3 separate regions of the Homo sapiens genome follow, and regions 2 and 3 are each linked to region 1. Evidence: promoter capture Hi-C in human tissues and cell types (Jung and others, 2019). All regions are on one chromosome and are shown on one strand. The core of a region is centred on a gene start or on the middle of the fragment in contact, and the rest is flanking DNA. Distances in the headings are between cores, read along the strand shown.

Region 1 (3,948 bases), core at 822-3,321:
ACTTTTCATTATTTCAAACCTAACCTATGAAGATTGCCCCATATCTCTATATAGAGAACATCCATATTCTCTGTCATGGCAGCATATTATTTCTTGCATGTGTTACACTTTTTAAACAGTCCTTTATTGTATACTTTATATTATTACAAGTCCTGGCTTAAAGATTCTTCGTGTGCACCTTACTAGGTGCACCTCATTACACGGCAAACAGATCAATTAAGAGTGTGTGTGAAAACTACAATACCATAAACAAATAATAAAATACTGAGGTACAAGGGACCTAATACAACCCCGTCATTTTACAAACTAGCTTGCTTACAGTTGCACTTTCTACTACAATGACAAGGACTAGAATACAGGCCACCAAATTTCTAGTCCAGGGGTCCTTCTACTACAATAATCTATTTTCATGATTGGTAGAAATTTCATTTTTGAGAAACTCTTTGACAAAGAAGCTTAGTTTTGTGGTCATCTATAAGAGACTCCATTGAGATGGTCGGTATTTTGAATTCAGTTCCAAATATGAAAAGGGAGGATTTCTTTTCCTATTTTTTTTGTCACAAGTCACATTTTAAGATACGAATTAGGCCAGGCTCACCCCTGTAATCCCAGCACTTTGGGAGGCCAAGGAGGGTGGATCACCTATGGCCAGGAATTCGAGACCAGCCTGGCCAACATGGTGAAACCCCGTCTCTACTAAAAATACAAAAAATTAGCCGGGCGTGGTGGCAGATGCCACCTGTAATCCAAGCTACTCAGGAGGCTGAGGCAGGAGAATTGCTTGAACCCTGGAGGCGGAGGTTGCAGTGAGCTAGGATCGCTCCACTGCACTCCAGCCTGGGCAAGGCAACAAGAGCGAAGCTCCGTCTCCAAAAAAAAAAAAAGGAATTATTTAACTAAAATTCACATAGGAAATAAGATTGTTCCAGCTATAGGTCATACTTTAAACAGGGACATTGATGGCCCAAAGGGACGTCATCAGATGTGAGCAGCAGAACAAATTACCAATGAAAGGGAAGGTCAAAGAGAAGACGGATCTGTCCCACTAGAATTCAAACAAACAGCAGTTCCTCCGTGTTACTGATCGAAAGGAGAAAGTAAGGGGAGAACAAAGTTGTTAGTGGTGAGGCTAGGGGTGCAACTGGACAAACGTTGGAAGCAGGAGAGGAAAACTGAGACCACATCTAAGAAAATGTCCATAGTAAATGATACCCACAGAGAATTCCCAAAAGAAGACGTACAAATGGACAGTAAATAAACTAAAAAGTTAAGCTTTACCAGTAAGCAAAGAAAAGCAAATTAAAACATATGTTTACAAAGTCACTGAATTGGCAAAAATTAAACAAGATAGTGGTAGGGGCAGGCACAGGGAGTTCCTGCTGGAATGCAGACACAAAACCTTTCTGGAAAGAAAACTGACATACTCTTTGACCAATAACTCCACTGCTTTCCTCTCTCCCTCTCTTTTTCTGAGGCGGGGTTTCGCTATGTTGCCCAGGCTGGTCTCAACTCCCCAGGCTCAAGCAATCCTCCCGCCTCAGCCTCCCGAGTAGCTGGAACCTCAGGCGCGCGCCACAACTGCAGAAACACCAAAAAAAGAAAAAAAGCTTGAACTCACTTTTGTACAGAATCTTACTACAATGTATTCCAGAAAAACAACTGGAAATCAGTGGTCATCTCTGCGTGTGAACGCATGGGTGATTTTTATTTACAGCCGGGCGCGCATCTCCATTTTCCAAAATATCCGATATACATATTTAAAGTCACCTGTGTTGCGCTGCTCCTGGCCCACAAGCGCTAAGGGACCCCAGCACTTACCTTACTCGTCCACGCCGCCTCACTCCCTTTCACTTTGTGGCTGTCAGCAACCACTTCTCGGAAGAGCCCGGGCGCGGACAGCTCCTTTCATCAGCCCCAAGCCGGACAGGACCCTAAGACCAAGTCACCCAGGGGCTGTTGCCTAGCAACCCTCGTGGCCCCGCTAGCGGGAAGGAAACCGAACAGAAAACGCACAAGCGCAGAAAAGAAACTCCTGGCCGTCGGTCGGCCCCCGCTCAACAGCCCAATAAACGGAAGAGCTTCTAGTCACCGCCCACCTTGCTCGGCTCTGACCGGAAGCTAGGCGTCACCTCCGCCCGTATTAAAGATGGTCGACCTTTTTCCCCTCCTTTTCCTGCCCCCAGACTAGAGGCGGGATGTAGTCTCTTAGGCTAAGAGTGATTGGTCACAAGGAGACTCGGAAGTGTCTGATCAGAGCCCCAGAGGAGGCCTTGAGAGCCTGTTGGCGTACCGTTCCACACTTGGATCCAGGAATCGGGCGTGTTCCAGGCTGCTCTCTATGGTAGCTTTGGGCGGATAGAGGGGGCGCGCAAAGTATTAAGGGACAATAATGGCCGCTTTCAAGGTGTGGATTTTGGCTCCTTGAGCCTGTCTGAGCGAGGGGTGGCAGCGCCGGCGCCCCAGAATCCGGGACAGAAGGGTCCCAAGAGTCGCGCTTGGTGAGGTGAGAGTCCCTTCTTCCTTCCTGGCCTGCCCTTCTGTAATCATGGCGGCTCTAGGCGGCGGATATTGGTCCCCTGCTCAGGTCCGGGCCCCAGTTTGGGGAGTTCCTCTGTCGTCCCTGTCACCCACCTTGCCTTACTCACCTCAGGGATGCTGCATCCGTCCTGGCCGCCTTGGCCTTCCTCCTTGCTCTGGTCAAATCCTGCTGCCTGGAGCGGCCTCGCTGAGATCCAGGGATGCTGCCTGGAGTGGCCTTGGTCCCTCTCCCAGGCCTCCGCTTTAACCCACCCCAGACTGTCACCGAGCCCGAGTAGGACTCCTTGTGTCTTCCTCTGCTCTCTCACAGTGTCATTTATACCAGGCAATCTGGTGGGCGATCTCTTCTACTAGAATGTCAGCTCCAGGTGGGCGGGGATTTTTGTCTTGTTCTCTGTTGCTATCGCCGAGAACAGCAATTGGCTCAGGGACACCCTCAGTGAATAATTGTTGAATGAATGAATCCAGGTTCTTTCTTCCCTGGCTTTCTCGTACGCCTTGTAGTTTCTTTGCCATTAATCCTTCTCAAGAATCTTGCTCTTTAGCTCCTTATTTGTTCGTCTCAGCAGCTAATGAAGTTCTCTCTGGCTGTCTCCTTGTCCTGTGTTGCTGGAATCTTCCCTTGCTGTCTCCAGAAATGTTTGGGTTCCTGTCCTCCTTTAATAAGTTTAAATTAATTCATTTTTTAATTTATCAAACGCTTATTTTGCTAGACATTGAGCTACAGCAGTCAACAACACATCCAGTGTTCTCTCAACTGCGTAGAATGGCAGTCCAGGGTACCTTTCCTAGTTTAGACAACTATTGAGTAGAGCCTGTATATCTTTACCTTCTTGTGTGGATTTCCTCACATGCGCACAGATGTCACCAATATGCAGCTTTCTTTTTTTCTGTTCTGCCTGATGGCATTTTCAAAATGTAACTCTTGTTTCTGCATTAATATTATGTGTCCAGTCTGTTTGGCAATACTCTGTAGAGCTGTGCATTTAATTAGAGTTTGGTAAACAATTCTGGATTCTGGTGGCATCTCCTTTGCTTTGCTAACTTGTTGGAATGAGAGGAATTATCCAAGCATCCAGAACTGATATATGTTGATGAGTGGCAGATGTGTAGTGAGAGGTAAAGAGGAGCTTGTTCCAACTTGAGTGCCAGAAGTCTTGTAGCCACTTAAATACTTCTCAGTAACACCTTTTCCTAACCTGGTGTTTCTCATAAATATTTTTGGTGAACATGGATTGTTATTAAACTGATTTTGGCTGCTGTGAGTAAATTGTTTTCTGTAAAACGCAGCTAGGCCAAGAAAAGCCACTAAAGTATGGAGAACATGGACGGTAGCCTTCTGCCCCATCTCTGTGCTGCTGTACCTGTTGTTTAAAGAGAGGAAGAGGTAGAACTCATGTAAAAAAATGG
Region 2 (3,948 bases), core at 462-2,961, 1.8 Mb after region 1:
AGCTATTTGGGAGGCTGAGGTGGGAGGATCACTTGAGCCCAGGAGGAAGAGGCTGTAGAGAGCTGTGATCACGCCACTGCACTCCAGCCCAGGTGACAGAGTGAGACCCTGTACAATCAATCAATCAATCAATGTAAAGAAAGTTACCTATAACAAAATCTCAACCCGTTAGCCTGACGTGATACCTACACATCATACAACTTTAGAGTAAGTTATCTCCAGAAGATTCGTGGTTCATACAACTGTAACAGATTAATTAGTAGAAGCATGGCCAGGAGTGGTGGCTCACACCTGTAATCCCAGCACTTTGGGAGGCTGAGGTGCATGGATCAGAAGGTCAGGAGACCAGCCTGGCCAACATACTGAAACCCCTTCTCTACTAAAAATACAACAAATTAGCTGGGCGTGGTGGCAGGCGCCTGTAATCCCAGACACTCAGGAGGCTGAAGCAGGAGAATGGCTTGAACCCGGGAGGCGGAGGTTGCAGTGAGCGGAGATCGTGCCAATGCACTCCAGCCTGGGCGACAGAGCGAGACTCCGTCTCAAAATAAACAAATAAATAAATAAATAAATAAATTAGTAGAAGCAGTCCCTAGAGGAATGGGGTATTGAAAGTGAAGCTTTAATAGGTAGGCAATGGGCATAAAGAGTAGGATCATGAACAATGGCCCCAGAAGGTGGACCCAGATGGAGGGTGATCCAGAAGGGATCAGGACTGAAGAGTGTGAACAGCAGGACGCCAAAAGGAAACACCCTTCCTTTTGCCTAAGACTGTGAGATGGCTTATATAAACCAAAGCCACCCTTGTGTCCAAAGGGAGATAGTCTTCACACAGAGCAGAATACATAGAAGGGCAGTCTTCAGTCTCAGAAAAAAATCCGAAAGGCAATAAAAGACATACGGTGATGGTGACCATCTGCTTAAGTTCTGCTGATCATCTTCTGCATTCTCAAGTTATTTTACATGGCCTTCATTCCAACATAGATCAGTTTCTATATCATACGATGGTCATGTGTGCATATACCTTAGAGTTCCACTATACCCTAATAATGCATGGAATTTTTATGCCTTCTTTATGTCTTGCAAAGCATCTAGCGAAGTGTATTGTATATCATATTCAGGAAGAGCTCAATAGATGTTCTGTGAAAGAATAAGTGCCGAAATGAAACATGTTCTAATCCATCTTTTCACAGTCATAATTTTTTACTAGTTACTGAATTCTGCTTAATATGCATATAGTCAAATTTTTCAGATAGAAAAATGATCACGCTCTTTTCTCCAAGCAAGACAAGTACCCATCACTCCCACCTCTCCTCAAAACTTACGAATAGTAATTCCAGCTTCAAGTCACAAAGCCAGGGCTTTTTAAGTTATCTCACCTTGTGCATTTGCCTTATCTAAGCTTGCCAAAAAATGTCCTTCTTTGGTGTGTGTTATCTACCTGCCTAATAGATTATTGGCATGTTTACAATCCATTGCCAGAACTTGCAGTTCTGACTTCATGAATTTACACATAACTTATCTCAGCAAACACAGCACAAGGGTCTTCTTTCAGCTTCCAAGTCTGATTTCTATAGCCTCCTCCAGAATGGCTTCCCTATTAACGTAGTCAACGTTAATATACTTGCCCTCAGAGCAATCCTTCATTCACTGAAGGAACATTCATTAACTACGCTGTGACAAGCACTATGCTAAATGCCAAAGATACCGTGATAAACACAGAGGTTAGAGTGGAACAAACATTCACAAAATACTTGGGGAAAATAAAATATGTAGGCTGGGTCTAGTGGCTTATGCCTGTAATCCCAGCACTTCGGGAGGCTGAGGGAGGAGGATCACTTGAGGCCAGGAGCTCGAGACCAGCCTGGACAACATGGTGAAACCCTGTCTCTACTGGAAATACAAAAATTAGCTGGGCATCGTGGCTGGCGCCTGTAGTCCCAGCTACTTGGGAGGTTGAGGCATGAAAATTGCTTGAACCCAGGAGGGTGGAGGTTGCAGTGAGCCAAGATCGCCCCACTGCACTCCCACCCAGACAACAGAGCAAGACTCTGTCTCAATCAATCAATCAATCAATAATAAAGAAAATAAAATAGGTGGACTTGACATAGCCTGGCAGGGGAGCCATTAGGCATCCCAATACCCAATAAAGTAATATTTGAATTGGTGTCATAAACTGGAAATGGCCACATACTCATTGCAGCTCCTGTCAGTAAGAGGAGACAACAATTCCCTTACCCCTTCAATATGGGCTGGCCTCACAGCTTGTTTTGACCAATACAATCTGACACAGGTAACCTGATGTGAGTTCTGAGCCTTGTTCTTAAGGGACTTTGCAGCTTCTTCTCTACTGCTGTTGGAACATCTCTGACATCATGTCAACAAGCCCAGGCTAGCTTCTTTATGCACAAGAGATGACATGAAAGACAGACCTGGGCATCACAGCTGTCACAGCTGAGGTCCCAGAAAAATGAGTCATCACAGTCAATACCAGAAGTGAGCATCTTAGATGAACCCCACCAAAATTGTTGACCCACAGATTTGTGAGCAACTTTATGATTGTTGTTTGGGGAGGGTTTCTTATGCAGCAAATGCTAACTGATGCAATTGGGATCTGAAAATAAGTTAAAAAAATGAAAGGCCTGGAATCTATGCAAATAGGCCATGCAGAGATGTTAAGGCCCCCAAGACAGTAACATCAGAGAAACTGGAAGACATGTATGGGAAGGGTTTGGGGCCGGTGTGGGGTGGGCATGAGGCACCTCCCTGAAGCCTGCACGCCATGTGTTCATTGGGGAAGCTCTTCATACCCCAGTTTCCTGGAACTGAGATCCCCTAACCTCCCAACTCTCTTATATTCTAGATAGTTTCTTGGCTTTGTTCACAATTACACAATTGCACCTTGTTTATTTTCTTCCTCCCACTCACTCCCAGTTCTGGGCCATTGGCACCATGTTCCAGGTCCTGATTTGGGGTAAATCTGAACTGCCGTGACTCAGAGAAGCATCCAGTCATCTGTTAAAACATGTTACTGCCAGCCAGGCACAGTGGCTCACACCTGTAATCCCAGCACTTTGAGAGGCCCAGGCAGGCAGATCACAAGGTCAGGAGATCAAGACCATCCTGGCTAACATGGTAAAACCCCATCCCTACTAAAAATACAAAAAAAAAAAAATAGCCGGGTGTGGTGGCAGGCACCTGTAGTCCCAGCTACACTGGAGGCTGAGGCAGGAGAATGGTGTGAACCCGGGAGGCAGAGCTTGCAGTGACCCAAGATCGCACCACTGCACTCCAGCCTGGGGGACAGAGCAAGACTCCGTCTCAAACAAAACAAAACAAAACAAAATAAAACAAAACATGCTACTGCCCTAGGAATGGCTTTGAGAATCCTGTTCTCAATCTTAAAACACACTTTTTTTGAGCCTCAATCTCCCGGGCTCAGGCAATCCTCTCACCACAGCCTACCAAGTAGCTGGGACTACAGGTGCACACCACTATGCCAGGCTAATTTTTTTTTTTTTTTTTTTTTTTTTTTTGAGACAGAGTATCACCCTGTCACCCTGTCTAGAGTGCAGTGGTACGATCTCGGCTCATTGCAACCTCCGTCTCCCAGGTTCAAGGGATTCTCCTGCCTCAGCTCTCTAGTAGTTGGGATTACAGGTGCACGCCACCATGCCCAGCTAATTTTTGTATTTTTAGTGGAGATGGGGTTTCACCATGTTGCCCTGGTGGGTCTTGAACTCTGCCCGCCTCAGCCTCCCAAAGTGCTGGGATTACAGGTATGAGCCACCACCCCCGGAAGAACACACTTTTCTCCAAACAAGACAAATGCCCGTCACTCCCACTTCTCCTGAAAACTCATGAAAAGTCCATCACTTTTCAAAGAGTTTGGGCCTCAAATTATTTTTGTCTTTCTTCCTTCTCTCATTATTTACTCCAGGCCCCAAA
Region 3 (3,948 bases), core at 552-3,051, 1.4 Mb before region 1:
GTTACAGTTCAACAGAACCAGATGTGAAAACGTCAGCCACCCAGTTCAGGCCCAGCAGGGTCCCTGCTCCACTCCGGCCTCCCTCCCTGCTGGGGTTGGGGTCCATGTGCCCGGACAGCCCGTTGTGGGCTCAAGATCTGCTGCCTGGAGGATACAAGGGAAGGGCCAGAGGCCGCTCAGGGGAGGCAGCACCACCTTCTCCGAGGCCAGCTCCTCTTCTGTGAACCAGGCAGGGCTAAAGAGCATCAAGTCGTGCTTGGCACAGGAAGTGGTCCACAGAAGGGGTGGGTGATGGAGAGGCTGGTATGGAACCAAGAGGACAGGGTGGGGAAGGGGCAGTTTCCCCCAAGAATCAAGTGGCTGGGAGAAAGGGAGGCTGAGCAGGGTCTTGGGGGTGTAGAGTCTGCAGAACTGGAGGGGGTGCACAGCTACGTAGACAAAGGCCGCCGCAATGGCACCAACTCGGGAACCCACTCAAGGGGCAATCACTTTCTCATCTGTGGGCCGGCCTGGGTCGGCAGGACAGGAGCGCCGGAGGCATCAATCATAGCCAGGAGACTTTGCAGCTGCTCAGGTCAGAGCGAGAGAGAAGCCGATGGGATGCAGCAGGGCCCAGTGGGGACTTCCAGCTGACGCGGCAGTGGAGAGGTCATATAGCAGTCTGCCACCGGGAAAGAGCTATTGCTGCAGGGTGAGGGCTGGGGCCAAAGGCAGCGAGGAGAGGGTGTGGAGGAAGGCACCCCCTGCTGGTGGAGCAGGGGGGCTGGACTGCTGGGGCTTCCAACTGGACAAGGGAGGGCCTGGCAGCACGGGTATGAGAGGATGCCATTCTGGGCAGCAGTGCCGGGGGCCTCAGGCTCAGGTGATTGGTGCCCCTGCCTTCCATTATTTTAATAAACTTTCAAAAATAGGTACTGACCCTTACTGGGCACCTGGTGCCAGGGATTCCGGGGTAAGTAAACTTGGCCTGTGTGGCCTGCCATGACGCTATTCAAACTGAGCTGATGACACAAATCACCCAGCACTGGGCGACGCTGAGGAGCCTCCGCATGCACTTCCAGCTGGGGGTCTAAGAGGTCACAGCCAGGAGGGAACAGATGTGAACTTCACCACCCACCCAGGCAGCCTGAGATAAGCAAGTGTGTTGGAACAGAGGGGCAGGAGAAGCTGGGATCTCCAGGGAAGCCTCCCACAGGGGCCCTCTGCACCGGCCTGTAATAACTAGGACACAAGCAAAGGCCCCCTTCACATGCAGGGAGCATTTAGCCTAGCCCTTGCCATGTGGGAGCTCACAGAGCCCCCAGGCACCCCAGCACCTGGTTTATAGAGAGGGAAGAAGTAGCAGTGAGGTAGGACCCTTGTCCGAGGTCACGGGATGGATGGGCAAAGCAGGGCTGTGAATCTAGATCCCTCTGACCCCAGTGCTCGTGATCCCTACTGCTGCTTCCTGAGGCTGGGAGGGGTGAGTGGGAGGAAGGGGCTTCAAGAGAAACAGGTGCTTTCCTGGGGCTGGTGTGGCTGGAGGAAGTGGTGGCGGGCAGCAAATGACAAGAAATGAGGCATTGCCGTGGCCTGAGGCCAGGAAGGGGTCTCTGAAGTCACTGTGAAGAGAGGAGAGATGCCCCCATCACTGCCAGGTTGTGCCCATGGCCTGGCCCCTCTCCTCCTCCCCTCTGGCTGTGGAAGCTTCCAGTGCTGGCGCAGGTGGGATTCCTGAGTGGGGTGAGGAGTGTGGGCTCTCGGGCCAGGCTCCTGGCCCAAACAAGTGGGGAATGACACAGTGCTGGCCTCTCAGAGCTGCTGTGAGGACCCCAGGGGCTCACCCAAAAAGCCAGCACGCGTGAGTGCTCAGAGCAGGGCAGGGCCTAACGTGACCTCAGCCAGTGCTGGCAGCCATGATGATTGTTGCCGTGATTACTGGGGAAAATGGCTTTCTGGCTTTCTGCTAGAACTTGTTTCTGTCTGGTGACATGAAGATGCTGCTGACATTTGGCTACAATACACTGTCCTGGGCTACAAGGAATGAAACCAAATAAGAACAGGTCATTATCACCCATTTTTAGAGCCAGGGATAAAAACACCTTGGACCACTGAGCCCCGCAAGGTATACTGACATGAACAGTTTTTTTGTTTTATTTTTTTTGAGATGTAGTCTCGCTCTGTTGCCCAGGCTAGTGTGCAGTGGTGTGATCTCGGCTCTCTGCAACCTCCACCTGCTGGGTTCAAGCGATTCTCCTGCCTCAGCCTGCCGAGTAGCTGGGATTACAGGCACGCACCACTACGCCCAGCTAAATTTTGTATTTTCAGTAGAGACAGGGTTTCACCATGCTGGCCAGGCTGGTCTCAAACTCCTGACCTCAGGTGATCCATCTGCCTCAGCCTCCCAAAGTGCTGGGACTATAGGAGTGAGCCAACGTGGCTTACGACATGAACAGTTTTATCCCAGCAGCATTGGGCCCCGTGGCAGGCAAAGTCAGGGAAGACTGGGTTTTAGGGGCAAACGTCAGTCCTAGGGTGACCTTTGGCCTCAGACTGACACATTACTGTGCATGGCTAAGGATCCTAAAGGCTGATTGGGTCTCCCCAGGCCTGGCTGCACCCTCTCTGGCAGCATAGATGTCCAGGCCCCGGGAGGAAAGGCATGTCTCTGACAAAGGGCTCATCCCAGAGGCCTCCTCTGTCCTTTGAAGTTTTTTGCACAGGCTCAGGGTACGGCGGGCCCACAGGCCTGTCTGACATCCCTGTCCCCAGAGCCAGCAGGACCTCCGCAGACTCCCCTGAGTGGAGACAGGAAATACAAAAGGAGGAGACACAGGAGATCCCAGGGGTGGGAGACAGGAAAGTGTGGTGTCCCTCAGCCAGCTTCCCTCACAGCTGCCCGCCCAGGCTGCTCCCCATCCTGTTTGCCCCCAGGCCACTCTCTCCCCGATTCTGCGGCTCTGCACAGGTGAGGAATGAGGGAGGCAGGGTGGGAGAAGCCTCTGCCTTCACCGCTCTGCGAGGGAGGGAGAGATGTTTATGCAAGGCCAGGCGAGAGGAAAATCCCATGTGGGCGACTCTGCCTCGGGGGGCCCTGGGAACCATGGCTGTGGTGCATTAGGCCAACACGGCAGCTACCCAGGCATGTGATGGACTCGCTTCTCCACTGCTGCGTGTGATCCGCACCATGTGGTTCCCTACAGATGCCACCGACTTCACCTTTGCTAGGCTCCCTGCCTCCGAGGCTTTCCAGACAGTCCCTTTGTGCCTTCGGGGCAATCTCCCCTACAGGGACACAGCACTGCTGCCTCCAAGTTCTCCAAGTTCTCAGGGCTGCGCCCTGGAGAGCCAGAGGCAGGCAGAATCCAAACAGGAAGAGGGTATGGCTTCACAGCCTTGTCCATGTGCATGGCCAGATGGAAACAGACAGAAAGAGCCCCTTGCATGCCTGAGAAGCAGTCTGGGAAGGAGCAGCTTGCGGAGGGATGAATGTGCACTTCCTGCATGCCTTCTGACCTCAGCACCACCCCACACATCCTCAGTGCCTGGCACGTGCCCTCCCGGGGCAGCGGAGGTGGGGGGGCGGGGAAGCAGGGCACACTCTGGCTCCCCTGGCTGTTCTCTTACTGGTTTAAGCTGACCTTTTAAAATCATGGCCCCATTTGTAAAATCTGATGCCAGCTGTGGACACGCGCATGTGCACACACATGGATCTGCTTGGAGCCTTGAGGCCCACACGTGAGTCTCAGGTTAAGAGCTCCTGGCCCAGAGAGTTGTGGATTCTCCTTCCGCAGCCCCCACTGCTCCTTGGCTGTGGATTCTTGAAGCAAGAAGTGTGACTGGCTGCAGGCACTTCCTTGGTGTTCTTTCCAGGATGGAGTTTCTTCCCATCTGGCATGCTTTGTCGTTCTTCTATGAATTCCGAGGGAGTCCCTGGCTGATGTGAGCTAATCTGACAGCCTCGGTGAG

The links. The method cuts DNA at HindIII sites, captures the fragments that hold promoters and counts their contacts. A contact is called where the count stands out against the background at its distance.
Region 2: a fragment that was not itself captured here is called in contact with the fragment with the promoter of TXNL4B in region 1 in 1 of the 25 tissues and cell types used here (lymphoblastoid cells).
Region 3: a contact is called between a fragment that was not itself captured here and the fragment with the promoter of TXNL4B in region 1, in 1 of the 25 tissues and cell types used here (lymphoblastoid cells).

Annotation. Positions count from the first base shown.
Region 1 is chr16:72,091,549-72,095,496 of GRCh38, forward strand. It overlaps TXNL4B (thioredoxin like 4B), which reads right to left and starts at 2,072. Exons shown (of 4, transcript NM_017853.3): 1 at 1,819-2,072. It overlaps DHX38 (DEAH-box helicase 38), which reads left to right and starts at 2,299. Exons shown (of 27, transcript NM_014003.4): 1 at 2,299-2,503. RefSeq lists enhancers at 1,845-2,174, 2,185-2,234, 2,295-2,594. The HindIII fragment of the contact is 10,781 bases long and covers 1,440-3,948 here.
Region 2 is chr16:73,862,662-73,866,609 of GRCh38, forward strand. It overlaps a transcript of ZFHX3 not described here. Among named protein-coding and RNA genes, the nearest start is that of PSMD7-DT, 350 kb to the right of the region's middle. The HindIII fragment of the contact is 5,304 bases long and covers 1-3,948 here.
Region 3 is chr16:70,737,836-70,741,783 of GRCh38, forward strand. The region is part of intron 13 of VAC14 (VAC14 component of PIKFYVE complex); the gene reads right to left. Among named protein-coding and RNA genes, the nearest start is that of VAC14-AS1, 15 kb to the right of the region's middle. RefSeq lists enhancers at 1-145, 118-648, 550-719, 2,472-3,279. The HindIII fragment of the contact is 3,664 bases long and covers 1-3,633 here.